Linked DNA regions of Homo sapiens: all the other regions are linked to region 1. Evidence: promoter capture Hi-C in 16 types of primary human blood cells and fetal thymus (Javierre and others, 2016). All regions are on one chromosome and are shown on one strand. Each heading gives the region's core, a stretch centred on a gene start or on the middle of the fragment in contact. The rest is flanking DNA. Distances are from core to core; before and after follow the strand shown. Region 1 holds the start of AVEN (apoptosis and caspase activation inhibitor). Region 2 has its middle 11 kb from the start of GOLGA8A. Region 3 overlaps NUTM1 (NUT midline carcinoma family member 1).

Evidence for each region. The method cuts DNA at HindIII sites, captures the fragments that hold promoters and counts their contacts. A CHiCAGO score of 5 or more calls a contact.
Region 2: a contact is called between a fragment that was not itself captured here and the fragment with the promoter of AVEN in region 1, in 1 of 17 cell types (total CD4 T cells). The highest score is 5.5, in total CD4 T cells.
Region 3: a fragment that was not itself captured here is called in contact with the fragment with the promoter of AVEN in region 1 in 1 of 17 cell types (total B cells); the score reaches 6.3 in total B cells.

What each region holds. Positions count from the first base shown.
Region 1 is chr15:34,037,181-34,041,301 of GRCh38, forward strand. AVEN (apoptosis and caspase activation inhibitor) reads right to left here and starts at 2,024. Exons shown (of 6, transcript NM_020371.3): 1 at 1,600-2,024. The coding sequence starts at 1,866. All of the region lies in intron 1 of CHRM5 (cholinergic receptor muscarinic 5), which reads left to right. RefSeq lists silencers at 997-1,056, 1,407-1,466, 1,557-1,766, 1,947-2,116. The HindIII fragment of the contact is 8,272 bases long and covers 240-4,121 here.
Region 2 is chr15:34,446,956-34,451,076 of GRCh38, forward strand. No RefSeq gene overlaps it. Among named protein-coding and RNA genes, the nearest start is that of GOLGA8A, 11 kb to the left of the region's middle. The HindIII fragment of the contact is 3,660 bases long and covers 1-3,501 here.
Region 3 is chr15:34,350,452-34,354,572 of GRCh38, forward strand. NUTM1 (NUT midline carcinoma family member 1) reads left to right here. Exons shown (of 8, transcript NM_001284292.2): 4 at 253-381; 5 at 3,285-3,421; 6 at 3,995-4,121. Among named protein-coding and RNA genes, the nearest start is that of NUTM1, 9.2 kb to the left of the region's middle. RefSeq lists an enhancer at 3,320-4,121. The HindIII fragment of the contact is 1,285 bases long and covers 1,772-3,056 here.

The sequences.
Region 1 (4,121 bases), core at 774-3,273:
CCTTCACTCACTCAATTCAACTTAAAGACACTTATTAGTAAAGTCCTGTGCGCCAGACACCATAGTTAACACCAAATGTACCATTACTACAATTACTCTTAAAGCACGATCCCTGCAGCTAAGGAATATCTACTTTGTTCTCAATAAAGTGGTAACTGGTTCACGAAAAAGTAAGAGATAAAATACTGTTGACTCAAGGGCAGCTTGATATAAATCCCAGCTCTGCCACTAGCTGTGAAAGCTTAGGCAAGTCAGTTAACCTGTAAAAATAAAGATTACTCTCTATATATGGATATATAAATAATATATAACATTGTAGTTAATATATAATTACATACTATTATATTACATAATTCTACATTACATATATATTATATATATATAATAGAGTTATAAGAACAAAATGTGATATATAGTGGGCACTAGGTTGGTCTTAGTTTCTGTCATTTACCTTAGTTTCTGTCAGTTTACACGAGGTAAACTGACCCTAAAAATGTTTTTATATCTCATTCAAGTTTTGCCTATTACCTATCTTAATCCTAACAAGATTTAAGTTTGTTACATTTAAATTTAAGTTTTATACTTTTTTTTCCAGCTCTGTATTGCTGTATACAACTACTCTCTTTAGGGATATCTTATCTGCTATGCCCTCAAGATATTGTAAATACTTCAGTAAGAGCAAATTTTGCCTCATGCAAAAAAGAATTTTTTAAATCAGTGTGCATAAGAATGCAGAATATAAAGATGGTCTTGTCCTACAGATGTTAAGGTAACAGAACAACTCATAAAAAGACAGTCCTCTAACTCCTTTAGCTGAGATATGGTTAGCTTTGCCCCCATATATATCATCCCCTGCTCCAATCTCCAAAAACTTCCTTCTATGAATGTGTCAATAAGACTGATGATATTGCTATTAAAACTCAGAACTTGACTGCTCATTTATAAATTGAAAATTCAAAACGACAAAGCCCAGTGCTCGCTGATTTCTACACATACAGGCATAATAAAAGAGAACTACGCTATTACAAAGAACTATGCATCTGGTCCCGCCCCCAAATACTAGAGTCCAGTCGTAGGGGTCATTCTTTCACTCAACAAACTTTTTATTATGCGCCTACTGTGTACTAGGCATTGCACAGACAGTTAACAAAACAGACCAAAAAATCCTTTCCCTCCTAATAACAGGAGCGTGCCCGTAAAGGCTGCCGAGGGACCACGTCGTGGCCGCGCCTCCGTCCCATAGTGGTACTCGTACAGACAGCCCAGCCGGCCCACGGGCCGCCGAGACTTGCAGCCCTGACACACGGCCTTGGCCTCTGGGTTCCTAACCCGGACCCTGGGGCAGGCTGGGAAGCCCTCCTACCCCCACTGTCTCGCGCCAGCCCGGCCAGGAGGCCACGAGGGCCAAGCGCATACCCAGGCGCGCCCCCGCCACCAGGCGCGCCCCCGCGCCACCATCCGCCCGTCCCGCGCAGGCGCCGGCGCCGCCGCCCGTCTGGCGCGCGCCTGGCACGCTCTCTTGCGGCTCTTGACTGGCGGCCTCGGCCCCACTTGCCCCAGTTACACGCGGTCCCAGCCCCACCAGCCGTCGCCTCTTACCGGCGCGCTGGCCCCTGCGCCCCAGCCTCCCGGCTCCCGGCGGCTGCCTCGCGGGGCGCCTCCTCCTCCTCGGCCTCCGCGAGCGCCGCGGAAGCCCCGGCCACGGCCACGGCCCCGGCGTCCGCCTCCGTCCCCGCCGCCGCCTCCGCCGCCGCCTCTGGCTACCGCCGCTGCGGCTCCGGGCCGCTCGCTGTGGCGATCTCCGCCAGGCCGGCCGCGGCCTGGCCGCCGCCCACGGCCTCCCCGAGCTCCTCGCTCCGCCTGCATCTGGCCGCCGCTGGCGGTGCTGAGCGCGCGGGAGCCGAGCTGCGGCGGAGACGCCCTGGCCCCACCGGAAGCGGGCCGCACGGAGGAGCCGCGAGCGAAAGGCGCCCGGTAGCAGCGAGGCGCGGGGTGCGGGGCTAGGGATCGAGGCCGGCCGCAGCGGAGCGGGGCGGGGCGGGGCGGCCGGCGTCCCGCAGGTGGGGCCGGAACCGGGACCGCGGGAAGGCCGGACCGCTGGGAGCTGGAAGTGGTGGGGGTCTGCAGCGGGGCGGGGGGATTCTCAAGGCATCAGAGATAGGTTGGGGGAGAGACCGTGCTAAGTGCAAGGACGAGTCATAAAATAAAATTTGTATGATGTGAACTCTCGGAAAAAAAAAGTTTAAACGTATGTATTTGCATAAGAAAAGGTCTAAACAAATACATACTAAAATGTTAGTGGTTAACTGCTGAGATTTGAAGTGAGTTAATTTTTTTTCCTCCGTTTAATCTAATTTTCAGCAACGAATGTGTATCATTTTAAAACTATACCGAAGTCAGGGTTCAGGAGGTGTGGATGTAAAGACAAGAGTTTGTGTCTGGTGAGAGGTGGACTGCAGCACGTGGGAGAGAGAACAGTGCGAAACTGGGAGATGGCTAGAAAGGGCGTCAAAGTCCTCAGCAGAATTTCTGTAGAAATGACTACTACAGCTGACATTTATTGAGCACATGAGTATTTCATTCTCATAACAGCTCTATGAGGTAGGGATGACTGTCATCCTTATTCTGCAGTGAGGTAACAGCCTTGGAAAGGTTAAAAAAAACTTGACTAAAGTGAATAACTAGGTAGTGGTGGAACTGGCATTCTAAGGCGGTCTCACTCCAGTCCCTTCTTTCAACCAAGGAGAAAACAGGAAGGGGAACAGTTGGTTACACAGATGCATGAAAGCAGTTTTTAACTTGGGACTGAAACCACCTGAAAATAATGAAAGCAAGGGCTAAAATGTCAGCCTAGCAGAATAAGTGTTTTCTTCCCCCTCAGTACTTTCTGGTTCTTTCCTATATCCATACATAGTTAATACTTTTCATTGCTTCTAATTGCCTACTCTGCATCAGGCACAGTGCTATGTCCTGAAATTAAAAACAAAAACAAAAAAAAAACCTTGCCCCTGCCCTCAAGTAGCTCACTGCCCACAAGGAAGATAATCTAGTCGTGTGAATAGATGATTACAGTACCGTGTTGCTGAGTGCAGTGAGAGATTCAAGATCAAGGTCCAAAGAAGAAAAGTTAAATTATATTTAAACGGGTTACCCAAGGCTTCATGAGAAATAGACCCCTGAGCTAAAGCCTAATGGTTGAGTAGGAGTTTGCCTGGTTGGTAAATGGGAGTAGGGGCGCCTTCCAGACAGGGGGAACTATTGAAGGATTGTCAACTCCAGAGAAACAGTCTTAAAAATAGTAACACTTGTAGAGCACTTATATGCACCAAACACTATTCTACATACTTCTCATATCACTTCATTTGGGACTAATAGCTGGCCTACGAGGTAAGCTAGTGTTGTCTCCATTTTACAGATCAGGAATCTAAAACAGATGTTAAGTAACTTCCAAGATTACACAGTTACAGGCCAGGTGTGTGGTTCGTGCCTGTAATCCCAGCATTTTGGGAGGCTGTGGCGGGTGGATTGCCTGAGACATGAGTTCAAGATCAGCCTGGGCAACATGGTGAAACCCCATTTCTACAAAAATTAGCTGGGCATGGTGGTATATGCCTATAGTCCCACTACTTGGGAGGCTAAGATAGAGAATCATTTGAGCCCAGGAGGTTGAGGCTGTAGTGAGCTGTGATTGTACATGGGCAACAGAAGGAGACTGTCTAAAAAAAAAAAAAAGATTTCAACATGAATTTTGAGGGAGATGAACATTTAGACCATAGCAGTGGGGAAGGGGCATGGAAGAATATGGTTAAATATCTACCAGCATATCACTGGTCTGGCCTCTCACCAAGTTGAAGATCCACACATTAATCTCAAACTAGACATTTGCACAAATCGGAGTTTCTCAATGTTGGCAAATTTAGGGCTGGGTAACATTTTGTGGCGGTAGCTTATCCTGTGCATTGTAGAATATTTAATAGCATCCCTGGCCTCTACCCACTAGATGCCAGAATGAACCCCTCTCCCCCTCATTAAGACAACCAAAAACATCTCCAGACATTGCCAAATGTTCCCTGAGAGGCAATCACCCTGGATGAGAACCACTAGCACAGATAGATTGGTGC
Region 2 (4,121 bases), core at 422-2,921, 410 kb after region 1:
TTAAATCCTTTGAGTGGCTGGATATCTTGAAATGGCAAATGAATTGGCCACAGAACAGTGCACACTATTCAAGGTTTGTTCATGGAGTCTTATTTATCACAGTGATCTGTGGGCATGATAACATAATCTATACAGTGTTCATTTTTCTCTTAGGTGGTCTGGGCATTCTTCAACCATTTATTCAAACATTATCTTCTCAATTCCACCTTATAATTTTTATTTCTAAAGCGAAGTGAGCACAGACCAGATACCTGTACCTGGGTAGTGGTTTTCTAGGATACAGTAAAATGCAGGATACATTGAAGAGCAAATGGGTGCAGATGAATTGAAAACTCTTCCCTCTCCACGTCAAAGCCCAGTTGAAGGTTGGCATTTGAACAGAAAACATTCATAGACATGAATGGGGAAAGTTAATGCTCAGAGTTCACAAGTGAAATGAAACCATTCCTACTCACTGCTTCTACAAATCACTTTATAAGTGATCCTGAGGAATTCTTTCTCATCTCTCTCTCTCTCTCACTCTCCCTCCTCCCTCATCTCTTCCCTCTCCTATTCTGGCTGAAACTGGCACCTAAGTCAAATGTAGCTAAGCAAACAGTGTCTCAGTACGAGACAGATATATATGTATGCACAATACACATATATATTTACATGTATATATATATATACACACACACACATATATGTATTATTTTTTCCTAATTCTACCCACAAAAGAGGCACTAATACCTTAAGAGCCATAAGCGAATTTTGTGCCCAGATGGTTTTTAATACCTGTCCCTACTGAAAGGAACAAGAGCCTCTTGGAGAAATGTCTGGTTCCAGGGCTGGGACAAAGAAGGTACATGATGAAACTGGAACACCTTTTTGTGCCAGAAAGAAAGGGAGTGCTCAAGAAAACAATGGGAACATGTCAAAAAGAAATAGGCAATAGCTTGAAGGGGCTCCTGCTGACCAAATCTAGGGACAATTTGTCTATCAAAATAAATGAGGATTGCAACGATTAAATAAAATAGGATGATTAAATAAAGTAGGAAATTATTCATCTATTATAATAAGCAAACAAAGAGATACGCGCATACATAAATGGATAAATAAGCAGAGGAGAAAAGAGAACATTTCTTTATTTTATTTTATTTTTTTGAGACGGAGTCTCGCTGTCGCCCAGGTTGGATGCAGTGGCGCGATCTCGGCTCACTGCAGGCTCCGCCCCCCGGGGTTCACGCCATTCTCCTGCCTCAGCCTCCTGAGTAGCTGGGACTACAGGCGCCCGCCACCTCCCCCGGCTAATTTTTTTGTATTTTTAGTAGAGACGGGGTTTCACCGTGTTAGCCAGGATGGTCTCGATCTCCTGACCTCGTGATCCGCCCGCCTCAGCCTCCCCAAGTGCTGGGATTACAGGCGTGAGCCACCGCGCCCAGCCAAGAGAACATTTCTTTAAATTAGTGTGCCACCTGATACATGTGAAAGGAAGAGTCATGGAGTGGCCGGGTGGAGGGAGGCAGGGCGGGGAATACCATTTGCAACTATGGTGGTAAAAAATAATTTAGGCAAGAAGTATCAGGAGAATACTTATCTTTGGGAAGAGCTGGATGAGAAGCAGGCTGCTTGCGTGTTCTCAAAGTGTCTCTTCACAGACTGCTATTCATTACAAGGAGAAAAGTACTAACTAAACAGTGAAGAATGCAAATGACACTTTGACCTTTTGCTGCAAAGTAACCTCACCAATAAGAGGTATGTAGATGTCTTGTATTTGGGGGATATATGGTACCCCGAGAAGGACACCACATCACTGCTGCATTATTCCACTTGCAGCTGTATAACCAAGTCTAATCATGAGAACACATCAATCAAGCTCAAATGAAGAAACATTCTGTAAAATTACTAGCCTGAATTTTTCAAAACTCCCAATGCCATGATAAAGAAAGGCAGAGAAATGCTGATAGAATAAAGAAGGTGAAAGAGATAGAAAAACTAAATGCAGTATGTGATTCTAGACATGGAATATGGACTACATAGATTAGATGAAAATATTACTTCAGTGTTAAATTTCTTGAATTGTACCATCTTCAGATGCTTATTTGAGGATATTTAATTCAGTCTGGAGAGTTTTATTGCAGTTTATCTTTCTTCCTAGTTGGTTTGGGGGAAGAATTTCTTCAGCTGAAATGTTTTGACTCATATTTTCTGTTTTCTACAGCAGCTTTTATATTGCAGTTTTTGTAGTTATGTTTTTTATTCTGTTCCCAGGTATCATAGAAATGGAGTTCCTAGTTCTAGAGTATCCTTTTCTATAAATAGAGTAAAATGCAGTTTATTTAATAAGAGATGTTGGCACTTTGGGCAGAAAGGGAGTGGTAGGCACGTGGTACTTCTCTTTCATCTGGACATATTCCTTAATTTTACCTTCTTTTTTTCCTTTCTGTGCCATGACTCCTGATCAATCAAATAGACAACTGAAATTATTCACAGATCTGAAATGTTTTATTATTTCTGTTACCAGATTTGTAGCTCTTCAATGCATGTTTAACCTGTGCACATAGTCTAATTTTCACTGCTGGTGTTGACAGAAAAAAATATTTCAAAAATGGAAGCTGAGGGAGGCCGAGGCGGGCGAATCACGAGGTCAGGAGATCGAGACCATCCTGGCTAACACGGTGAAACCCCGTCTCTACTAAAAATACAAAAAAAATTAGCCGGGCGTGATGGTGGGCGCCTGTAGTCCCAGCTACTCGGGAGGCTGAGGCAGGAGAATGGCGTGAACCCGGGAGGCGGAGTTTGCAGTGAGCCGAGATTGCGCCACTGCACTCCCGCCTGGGCCACAGAGCGAGACTCCGTCTCAAAAAAAAAAAAAAAAAAAAAAAAAAATGGAAGCTGAGGATTGTAACATAATGTAGGTATATAATGGCAATGGCACTATTTCTGCTTTTCCTGTGCTTTGGGTCTACCTGAAGAGTAGTGTGCACTTGCTGTGAATGGTAGAGCCCACCTACATTAGGCTGATGATTTATTGTTGAAGTCAAAAAAACTAGTGAAATTTTACTGAGTAGACTCTTGATCAGCAGGGTAGCAGATGTCTCCCAGAATATTTTGCTTCTCAAATTTACAGGGCTTCTACCTTTCATAGAAAACCATCCTCACCTCTGACTCATGTGACTTATCTTCGGGTACTGCCTTCTCTTGGCAGTCTTTGGGACTACCTCAAAGCAGAATTCATCCTACCCTGCTCAGTGTTCCCTCGACTCTTCTTCCATTATATGGTAGTCCACTGGTGTCTCAACAGGTCTGTACATTATCAGACTGTGAGCTCCCTGCTCCCTCAGCCAGACAGAGATTGAAGAGGACACCATCTCTTTCAACTAAATTGTGTGAGGCCATTACAAATGGCCGACATTTGTAGGCCACTACATATGGGCTACTACTCACTTATGTTTTAGCCCAGCCCTTGAGTTTGTAAAGTGTGTTGGGTTAAATTTGTAGTTAGACAATTTAGCCGAGGGAAGCTTAAATGTTCTGTGTAGAGCAGTGGGAGAAATATGTTCTTGTTATTTTTGCTCTTCTTGAAACAAAAGAAACGGAAAAGGGAGAGAAGAGGTGAATAATAAATACGAAAGAGTAGAAATGCAGTCTGCAACAGATGACAGCAGACTGAAGCTAGAATCCAGACCAGGCCAAGGAACTTTATGATTTTAAGGAGGATGGGTAACACACAACTGGAGGTGTTAGCAGTGCTACAGTGGTCAGTTGTACACATTTTTTCTGGCCCTTGAAAACTTGAGTAAGTTCAGTTAAAACACACATAGCATGAGTAAGAATTTTGATTTTATGAACACTAAGGAAAATGCTGTGTTTGTTACATGATAGGGCAAAATAATTAGAAAAAGAACCCTACACATAGAACAGTTGCATAATTTTGAAACGAAGTTAAATCAGAGGAAATGTGGGGGGCAGGAGGAGAATGACCACAAAATTATAAGCCTACAGATAATTTGGAAAAATCCTGAGGAGGATTTTCAAGAAAATGTTCAGTGAAAGCTTGGAGCAATTTCATCTAGTGTTTAAGAAGAAGGATTTCCTTGCTGATTTCTATGATGTGTTTTTATTCATACACAGGTACAGCA
Region 3 (4,121 bases), core at 1,164-3,663, 310 kb after region 1:
TAAAAGGTGGGGAGAAGAATTGTCTGTTTGATTTTATATTAGTTGTAAAGTTCAACAGGAAGAGGGGCGAGTATGGTAGATGAATGGATGGGAGGTTGAGCGTCTGTAAGTCTAATCAGAAGTGGGACACGACAGGCCCTAAGGGGCACAATAGATTTGATGAGGGGCAGGGGATGTGTTATTGATGTAGGTGTCAGGGCAGGTGGATGGGAGCACACTTTTAGAATGTGACTGACTCAATGGGGGTTTTAGCCCAGTGCTTCGTTCCCTGGCCCGGCTGAAGCCCACTATGACCCTGGAGGAGGGACTGCCATTGGCTGTGCAGGAGTGGGAGCACACCAGCAACTTTGACCGGATGATCTTTTATGAGATGGCAGAAAGGTGAGTTCGATGAACCTTCATTCTCCTGAGGGAGGCTGTGTGGCTGAGAGCAGTAAGGGCCGCAGAGAGACTTGTGTGGGGGTGATTATCAAAAGCCATGTTAGGATGGGGCGCAGCGGCTCACGCCTGTAATCCCACCACTTTGGGAGGCCAAGGCCGGTGGATCACCTGAGGTCAGGAGTTCGAGAACAGCCTGGCCAACATGGCGAAACCCTGTCTCTACTAAAAAAAAAAAAAATACAAAAATTAGCCGGGCATGGTGGCATGTGCCTGTAGTCCCAGCTACTCAGGAGGCTGAGGCAGGAGAATCGTTTGAACCTGGGAGGTGGAGGTTGCTGTGAGCCAAGATCATGCCTCTGCACTCCAGCATGGGTGACAGAGCAAGACTCCATCTCAAAAAAAAAAAAAAAAAAAAAAAAAAAAAAAAAAAAAGGGATGTTAGGCTGGGTGTGTGCTTGTAGTCCCAGCTACTCTAGAGGCTAAGGTGGGAGGATGGTTTGGGTTCAGTAGTTCAAGACCAGCCTGGACAACATAGCAAGACCTCATCACAAAAAAAAAAAAAAGAAAAGAAAAGAAAAAAAGGGACGGGAGGAGGGGTGTAGACTAGGATGGCAGTTTCCTGGATCCTTGCTTCTTCTTCCACCACCTTGACTCTTGGGTTTTTCTATCCTGTTTCCTCTTGAAAGCTCCCCCCTCACCAGATCCTGAATCTGTATAGGAGCCTTGATATTGTAGGTCTTAGGATGGGATTGGAGATTGGACCCCGATAGATATAGAAATTTCATGCTGAAGGGACCTAGCAATGAGGAGGTGTGCTCTACCAGGCAGGTTCTTTTCTCTTCTCATTGACTTGGTAGCAAGTGGCTATTGATACAGAACTTCAGGACCACTCCTCCATTGGAAATAGTGGCACAGAAAATCCCTTTCCGCCTTTATCCCAGGGAGGGGGCTGGTTCTGGAAGAGCCGGGGAAAGCCAGTGTCCTGGATGCCCAAAGTTGTCTCCTGGCTCTTCTTCTATTTCTCTATAATATCTTTGATTAAAAAAAAAAAAAAAAGGCTAGGCGTGGTGGCTCCGCCTGTAATCCCAGCACTTTGGGAGGCCGAGGCAGGCAGATCACCTGAGGTCGGGAGTTCGAGACCAGCCTGACTAACATGGAGAAACCCCCATCTCTACTAAAAATACAAAATTAGCCAGGCATGGTGGCGCATGCCTGTAATCCCAGCTACTCAGGAGGCTGAGGCAGGAGAATCGCTTGAACCCAGGAGGCAGAGGTTGCGGTGAGCCGAGATTGTGCCATTGCACTCCAGCCTCGGCAACAAGAGCGAAACTCTGTCTCAAAAAAAGAAAGAAAGAAAGAAAAAACTCAGAAAAATGAACAGATTCTTCCAAGCTTAGCTTCCACTTACTCCCTCCCAAAACCTTTTGGACCCATGCTTCCTAGACTTACCTTTCCAAGAATCCCATCCCAGTCTCAGGACTCTGGGATCTCACATTGTTTCCTGGTAGGAACTGCCTTGAATTCTTTGTGGTTGTAGGCAGGGGCAAATGAGGTCTTGAGGAGGATCCCACTGTGAGATCCCACCAGGCTGTTGCATAGGCCTGATTAAGTTAAACAAGCCTATATTGAGCACTGCTGTGTACAATCCATGAAGCTGGGTGAGATAGGTACGGAAAACAAGTGAGGCCGGGCACATTGGCTCACACCTGTAATCCCAGCATTTTGGGAGGGTGAGGCGGGCGGATCATGAAGTCAGGAGATTGAGACCATTCTGGCTAACACGGTGAAACCCCGTCTCTACTAAAAATACAAAAAAAAAAAAAAAAAGCCAGGCGTGGTGGCACGCACCTGTAGTCCCAGCTACTCAGGAGACTGAGGCAGGAGAATCACTTGAACCCGGGAGGCAGAGGTTGCAGTGAGCCGAGATTGGGCCACTGCACTTCATCCTGGGCGACAGAGTGAGACTCTGTCTCAAAAACAAAAACAAGTACTGAAAGCCCTCACTGTGTCCAAGAGAAGTTTACAAGCTCTAGATCATTCTTAACTTTTTTTTTTTTTTTTTTTTTTTTTTGAGACAAAGTCTCACACTGTTGCCTGGGCTGGAGTGCAATGGCACGATCTCGGCTCACTGCAACCTCTGCCTCCTGGGTTCAAGTGATTCTCCTGCCTAAGCCTCCCGAGTAGCTGGGATTACAGGCACCCACCACCACATCAGGCTAATTTTGTGCATTTTTAGTAGAGACGGGGTTTCACTATGTTGGCCAGGCTGGTCTCGAACTCCTGACCTCATGATCCGCCCGCCTCAGCCTCCCAAAGTGCTGGGGTTACAGGCGTGAGCCACTGCGCCTGGCCTCATTCTTTACTTTTTAAAAATTTTCTTGAGGCAGGATCTCACTCTGTTGCCCAGGCTGGAGTGCAGTGGCACTGTCATGGCTCACTGCAGCCTTCACCTCTTGAGCTCAAGCGATCCTCCCACCTCAGCCCCACAATAGCTGTGACTAGACGCGCGTCATCACTCTTGGCTAATTTTTTTGGTATCTTTTGTAGAGATGGGTTTTTGCCGTGTTACCCAGGTTGGTCTCAAACTCTTGGGCTCAAGCAATCTGCCCACCTCAGCCTCCCAAAGTGTTGGGTTTATAGGCATGAGCCACCCCACCTGGCCATTCATTTTCTTAAGCTTCCTAAGTTATGACTATAGGGGAAGGAACTATGTGCTGAGCTCCTGAAGTTTCCCTGGAAATACGATTAAGCCACCTGTGACCACCCTCCTGGGTGACATGACTTAGGCAGACTTTGCCCACCTGAGAGCACTTCCTTTCTTGGCCATGCTTGGCTGTCGTCTGGATTTCTGATGGGTCTGGTCTCCTTCTCAGCATTGCCTATGCCTTTCTCACCCTCTGCAGGTTCATGGAGTTTGAGGCTGAGGAGATGCAGATTCAGAACACACAGCTGATGAATGGGTCTCAGGGCCTGTCTCCTGCAACCCCTTTGAAACTTGATCCTCTAGGGCCCCTGGCCTCTGAGGTTTGCCAGCAGCCAGGTGAGGCTACCCAATTTTGACAGGAGCCGTGGGCCAAAGGCTCAAAGGGATGCATACAGAAGCCAGTCACAGATTAGAGAAGGCATAGCCCAGGCTCTGCCACTTTCCCTCTGGAGAGTGGCATTTGATATTCCAAACAGACCACCCCATAGGAGGCTGGGTTCTCAGGTTCCTTTTGCCCTGAACTAGGTATTGATCTTGGTGAAGTAAACTGACTACTCTCACCGAGACTCTAAATTCAGCACATAATACCTCATCTGCCTAAGAAATGGGGACTGGATTAGGGGGTTTCTTGGAATCTCAGGGATTCCAAAATTCCTCATACAGTGATTCTTAGACCCTCTAGGTCCTAAATCTCCCATGGCTGGCGCTTTTTCAGGTTGGCCCAATCCAGCCTGGAACCATTTCAATGTACCCAGATTGCTGAGCTTACAGAGCTGGGAGGCAGAAGCTGTGGTTTCTGTGCTACTTCCCATTCTCCTGTCCATCTCTTACCTTAGTGTACATTCCGAAGGAGGCAGAATCTGTGGTTTCTGTGCTACTTCCCATTCTCCTGTCCATCTCTTCCCTTAGTGTACATTCCGAAGAAGGCAGCCTCCAAGACACGGGCCCCCCGCCGGCGTCAGCGTAAAGCCCAGAGACCTCCTGCTCCTGAGGCACCCAAGGAGATCCCACCAGAAGCTGTGAAGGAGTATGTTGA